Linked DNA regions of Homo sapiens: region 1 is linked to region 2. Evidence: promoter capture Hi-C in 16 types of primary human blood cells and fetal thymus (Javierre and others, 2016). All regions are on one chromosome and are shown on one strand. The core of a region is centred on a gene start or on the middle of the fragment in contact, and the rest is flanking DNA. Distances in the headings are between cores, read along the strand shown.

The links. The method cuts DNA at HindIII sites, captures the fragments that hold promoters and counts their contacts. A CHiCAGO score of 5 or more calls a contact.
Region 1: a contact is called between a fragment that was not itself captured here and the fragment with the promoter of TEX10 in region 2, in 1 of 17 cell types (naive B cells). The highest score is 5.4, in naive B cells.

What each region holds. Positions count from the first base shown.
Region 1 is chr9:100,013,341-100,016,586 of GRCh38, reverse strand. It overlaps ERP44 (endoplasmic reticulum protein 44), which reads left to right. Exons shown (of 12, transcript NM_015051.3): 8 at 149-265. Among named protein-coding and RNA genes, the nearest start is that of ERP44, 84 kb to the left of the region's middle. The HindIII fragment of the contact is 2,190 bases long and covers 324-2,513 here.
Region 2 is chr9:100,351,354-100,354,405 of GRCh38, reverse strand. TEX10 (testis expressed 10) reads left to right here and starts at 1,464. Exons shown (of 15, transcript NM_017746.4): 1 at 1,464-1,634. It overlaps LOC105376177 (a long non-coding RNA gene), which reads right to left and starts at 1,356. Exons shown (of 4, transcript NR_188642.1): 1 at 825-1,356; 2 at 311-409. RefSeq lists enhancers at 1,137-1,771, 2,176-2,225 and a silencer at 1,286-1,835. The HindIII fragment of the contact is 13,255 bases long and covers 1-3,052 here.

The DNA.
Region 1 (3,246 bases), core at 169-2,668, 340 kb after region 2:
AAGGCTGCAGTGAGCCATGATCATGTCACTGTACTCCAGCCTGGGTGACAGAGTGAGACCTTGCTTTAAAAAATATAAAGAAAAAAAATAAGAATATACTTTTGCCAGCACAGGTTAGATTTAATTTTTTTTTTCTGTTTTGTAATAGCATTCTGCTCCGGATATGGTGTACTTGGGAGCTATGACAAATTTTGATGTGACTTACAATTGGATTCAAGATAAATGTGTTCCTCTTGTCCGAGAAATAACATTTGAAAATGGAGAGGTATGGGCTTTCTACTGTGCATTGTTACTTTAAATTCAAATGTCTGAAACCACAAGCTTCCTCCACCTGTCTTACTATGTTAACAGAGTTATGAATTGTAAGAATCATATAGTGAACATAACTATATCATAGCTGTTTCTGTAATATACACCAGTGATTCTTCACCTTTGCTATCCCAGAACCCCTCTGTTACATTTCCAGTAATAGTAGTAGTTCACTACAGCCTTCAAAATGAGTTTGAAAATGCCTTTCAGGTGATTCTGATACCCATCTGTTGGTTGAGGATCCCTGTTTAGGTGGATGTCCTTTAGAACAAGGGTCCCCATACCCTGGGCCGCAGACCTGTATCAGTCCACGGCCTGCTAGGAAGAGGGCTGCCCAGCGAGAGAGCATTACGGCCTGAGCTCTGCCTCCTGTCAGATCAGTGGCAGCATTAGATTGTCATACGAATGTGAACCCTGTTGTGAACTGTGCATGTGAGGGATCTAGGGTGCATTCTCCTTATGAGAATCTAACTAATGCCTGATGATCTGAGGTGGAACAGTTTCATCCCGAAATCATATCCCCCACCCTGATCAGTGGAAAAATTGTCTTCCATGAAACCAGTCCCTGGTGCCAAAAAGGTGGGGGACTGCTGCTTTAGGAGCAATGCTTTGCAGATTTTAGTTACAATTATTTCTATACAATGAATAATCCTTTGCCACTAGAAGATTTTTCTGTTTTTTGTAAAGCAGTTAATGTTGTCTTTTCCATTATAAATAATGAAAGCAGGTAGCAGTGATAGGTAACCGACCTCAGTCATCCCATGCATCTGAAATCAAGCCCATCGAAATTCTTACAACTCCCACCAAAATAAAACTTAAAAACCTAAGAGGCTGGAGGAACAAGTACAAAGAGTTATGTCTGTAAGGACCTCTCTCCTTTCTTTACTTTATGTAAGACATATCTTTCATTCCAGGTCTTTTGTTTTTAAAACCAATGGCCTAAGAATGCAAGTTTTTAAAAACTTTGTATTAGGTACAGTTTTTAAAAACTTTGTGTATGCATATACACTTCAAAGAATTGTAAGTGTATAAATCACAGTTTAAATATCTGGTCCCCCAAAATTATCACAGAGTAAACATACCCATATAATCACTACTTAGAGTGGTATGGACCAAATATTTGTGTGTCCTAATATTCATATGTTGAAATCCTAATCCCCAATGTGACAGTATTAGGGAATGAATCCTCCATTCATGAGATGGAGTCCTCATGAATGGGATTAGTGAACTCATAAAAGAGACCTCAGAGAGTTATGTAGCTCTCTTTCTGCCATGTGAGGATACAATGAGAAGTAGGCAGTCTGCAGCCTAGAAGACAGCTCTCACTAGAACTGACCATGCTGGCACCCTGATTTTGGATTTCCAGCCTCCAGAATGATGAGAAATGAATTTCTGTTAATTTGTAAGCCACCCAGTTTATGGTACTTTAATATAGCAGCCCAAACTAAGAGAGAGGGTGGACAATTTTTTTCAACAAAGGGTCAGATAGTAAGTATGTTAGCCTTTGCAGTTCATATAATCTCTGTGGCAGCTACTCAGCTTTGCAGTTGTAGCACAAAAGTAACCTTAGACAATATGTAAACAAATGAGCGTGGCTGTGTTTCAATAAAGCTCTTTCTGGACAAATAATTTTCACATGCTGTGAAATATTAAATTTTTTTCCCAATTATTTAAAAATGTAAAGACCAGGGCCTTGTGCCATGGCTCACGCCTGTAATCCCAGCACTTTGGGAGGCCAAGGTGGGTGGGTCACCTGAGGTCGGGAGTTCGAGACCAGCCTGGCTAACTAACATGGTGAAACCCCCGTCTCTACTAAAAATGCAAAATTAGCCAGGCGTGGTGGCAGGCGCCTGTAATCCCAGCTACTCGGGAGGCTGAGGCAGGAGAATCACTTGAATCCAGGAGGCAGAGGTTGCAGTGAGCCAGGATCCACCACTGCACTCCAGCCTGGGCGACAGAGTGAGACCCCGTCCCTCCAAAAAAGAAAAACAAAAAACAAAAAACAACTAAAGACCAATTTTAGCTTGTGGACCTAACAGAATCAGGCAGCAAGTCAGATTTGACCCATGGCTATAATTTGCCAATCCCTGAGCTAAGTCAAGAAATAAAGTATTTCCAAACCCCTTGTCTTCCTTCTCAGTTATTACCCCCACTTACCATCTTCATAATCACCATACTTATTTTCAATAGGACTATAGGAAGCTTTTCCTGTTTTTGAACCTAAAATGGAATCATGTCTTTTGTGTCTGGCTTCTTTCACTCAACTTTATATTTATGGAGTTCATTCATATTGCATGAAGCTGTAGTTCATTCATTTTCATGCTGAATATAATTCCCTATATAAATATAACACAATATATCCATTCTACTATTGGTGGACATTTAGACTGCTTCCAGATTTTGACTACCGTGAATAATGCTGCTATGAACATTCTTTATCTATGTCTTTGGTGAATATATGCACAGATTTCTACTGGATATATATACCTATGAATAGAATTGCTGAGTCATAGGGCATATATACATTCAATTTTAGTGGATACCAGTTTTTCCAAAGTGGTTTTAGCAGTTTACATTCCTACCAGTAGTATATCAAAGTTCACATTGCTCCACGTCCTTACCCACATTTGATACCAGCTATTTACATTTTTAATCTATTTTGGTGTATGTGTAGTAGAGTCTCATTGTGGTTTTAATTTATATTTCCCTGATGATCAGTGGGATTGAGCACTATCAGTTGCCTTTTCCGGAAAGACAGATGGTCGTAGAAGAAAAGCAGCTTAAAATGCCATGCTTAATGTTCTGGGTTTCCTTCTATTCCAGTCTTGGCCCATAATTCTTTTTTTTTTTTTTTCACTCTTAGATGCTTTCAAAAAGTGTTTTATTATTATTATTATTATTACTCTGGTTTTTCTAATTTTCCCAGTAGTAAGATTA
Region 2 (3,052 bases), core at 215-2,714:
TTTTGAGCCAAAGAGTGATCTGATCTAACCTAGATCTTAAAATAATCACACAGCTGCTCTGCTGATACCAGACTGTAGGGGGAAGAAGGACAATAAGGGAAGCAGGAAGATGTGTTTGCAGGCTTTTTGCAGTGATCAAGAAGCGGCTTGGACCAGAATGGTAGCAGGGGAGGTGTGTTAACTGGTGAAAGTTAGGATGTCTTTAAAGGTAGAGTCAATCTCCAGATGGATTAGATGTGAGGTGTGGAACAAAGAGGCCAAACCAAAAACCCAAAGGTTTCTGCTTGAGTAACTGCAAGGACAGACTTACTATTTGAGATGAATAAGCTGTAGGAAGAGTAGATTTCAAGGGGAAAATCATCAGTAGCTCTGTTTTGGACAAGTTGACCTTGAGATGTATACTGGATATCTGAAGGAAACATTGAAAAAACTGTTGGATACAAGTTTGGAGTTCCAGGGACTTGTCTGGTTGGCAATAAATCTTTCCTCTTCTGATCTAGTCTCATAGCTTTAAACAGAATATAATGCCACATAATGCCAATGACTCCCAAATATTTATGGTTATGGTCGATTCCAGGCAGATTGTGGTGATGTGGCCATATTGCCAGCAAAGGGAGGTCAGGGTTTCTAGCGCTGCCTCTTTATCTCCGATTATGGAACAGGCATGGTTTTAGTTCCAGTGCTTGGGTCTCCCTGGATTTAGACATCATTCCTTTGAATTCCCACCCAATATAATGAGGGTCAATATCTTCGCTAGCTTTACTAAGTCTTAATTATCTGGTGAGGTGTAGACACAAATTTGAATCAAGGTCTGAAGTCCTTACCTGGGGCTCTTTCTTCCATGCCATCATGCCAGTCTTTGTGAAGACATTTTTCAAAGGCTCATTCTTCTTACCTCTTTTCTAGGAATTTTAGTTTATTTCTTTACTTAACTTCAGAAATTAATTTCTCACTTCATTTTAGTAGCAGGAATGTTAGTGCTGAGAAACTGAGATGTTAGGGAGAATCCTTGACCAAGACTTCCAGGCTCTAGATACTAGGTGTGTCTTGCTCTAATTAAGGAAATCTTATCTGCTCCATCTTAGCCCAGTTTAACGTCCCCAGGAATTCCATCTTCTGCAGTCCTAAACTTTTCCCTTTTTCAATTCAGTGCAACTTATACTCTTCTCTGAAAGTGGCTCCAGGTCTGAAGAACTGTGGTCTGGGAGGAATAGAAAAGCATGCTCAGCTATAACCAGGCCCACATCCCCTAAGTTGCCTGCCCACCAAGTTACGGGCCGGACTTATGCGCCACGCTTTGTCCGGGGACCTCGCGCTGTCCTCCCTCCGGTTCCCACAGAGCAGGGGGCTTCCGGCGGGGTACCCTCCTCTGTGGGCGGGGCCTACCGCTCCCGCTCCCGCCTCCCCGGTTGCGCGCGGCTGCGGGCTGCGATCACGTGAGCACAGCAGGGAGGGGGAGGGGCCCTGATTTCCGGGCGGCGGAAGGAGACGCGGCCGCGTGAGGACGAGGCTATTTGAAAACACGCTCCGGGAGCTAGAGCCTGAGGTCGGCGGCGCACGCTGTTGCCCCGTGGGCTTCTGCTCCCTCGCTTGTCTTCTCGGGCTTCTCGCCCCGGCCGCGGCCGGGTCCTCAGGTAAGCGGCCGTCGCCCGTCGGGCCGGGTCCTCCCGGGGCGCGGGACTGAGCGTGGTGGGGCCGTCGCCCCCCGATCCGCGGCCCAAGCGGGCAGGGTCGGCCGTGCACGATTTGCGTCCCCCGGGTCTGGGCCGCGGCGTCCCTCCGAGCTGGGCCTGGGTGTGCGGCCGGCACTGCGGGGGCGGGACCCCCTAGGGCGTTTGCGGAGCTTCAGGTGACTGGGCGGGTTCGCCTGGTTTCGGGTCCGAGAGAGTTTTAGCCCGGAGTGTGTGAATCGGGCCCCACTTCCCCGACTCTGGTCCTGGCCGGCGTCCCTTGGAGTAGGAGGAACGATGGTTTCCTAAAACCCATGGTGTGTTCGCCTCTGGGATGGATGCAGGACCGAATACGGAGTGGGGATGAGCTGGCGTCCCCTGTTCCGTCCTCTGGTCGCCCAGGCGGGAGAGTTAAGCGAGCGGAAGGGGACTACCAGTTTTCTGGGGTCGCCCCTGCCTGGGCCATTTGCTTTTTGGGAAGTCTGTCGCCTCTGGTTGGCCCCTCAGTGGAGTTTGGAGGAACTCATGAGTTTAAGGGTTTGGGGAGGAAATTATCAAAGGCCGAGTGCAGTACGATCGTTCTCTCTGATTTTTTTTGGAAAAGAAGGTGGAAATGAGGAAGGGTAAGAAGGTGGCAGGCAAACTATTTATAGTTGGAATTTAGTTCGATTGAAATCCTAAAAACGCTAGGATCTGCCTTTTGTTGGAATTAGAAAAGACCTACAGTAGGAATGTGTGACATTCAGCTTTGAAACTATTGGGGATCGCAAACCTAAGGACTAGTGATGTGAGCTCCTCCTCTGAGACTGGCGTTCCTACCTTTTGCTAAAAACCGGCTACTGTAAAAGTGGCTTAGTGGGACTTTTTGATTTGCTGTGTTATGAAAATCTTTGTTATAAGTTAAAGTCAATTACTAGTAGAACTTTGAGAGTTCTTCGCATGAAAATGCTTTGTATCCCGTAATAATATTACTAGGTTTGAAAAGTCAAGGAAGGTCAATCAGCCTTCTTAATTTTCCTAACAGAGAAAGCATTAATGTGACTAATACAAAGCGATAGATAATATGGCATGAAGTTGACAGTAGACTGTTGAAGATCTATCAGGTGGTTAATGGCTAAATAGAACCCACAGGAGTGGAGGAGGAAGGGAGTTAATTTTTCTGAATGTCCTGTACCATTTACTTTCGTGTCTAGTACCAGCTAGTAATAAAATTGTAGGAAAAGCTCACAAAGTGTGCTTGCTTAATTAATGAAAACCATTTTTGTATTAAAAGAGGCCAGGTGAGTATCATGGCCTTCTTTTTAGGCCTTATTCCCTCCCACCCACCCACCCACCGACCCCCAGCTTTTTTTTTTGTTTTGTTTTGTTTTTTAAGACTAAGG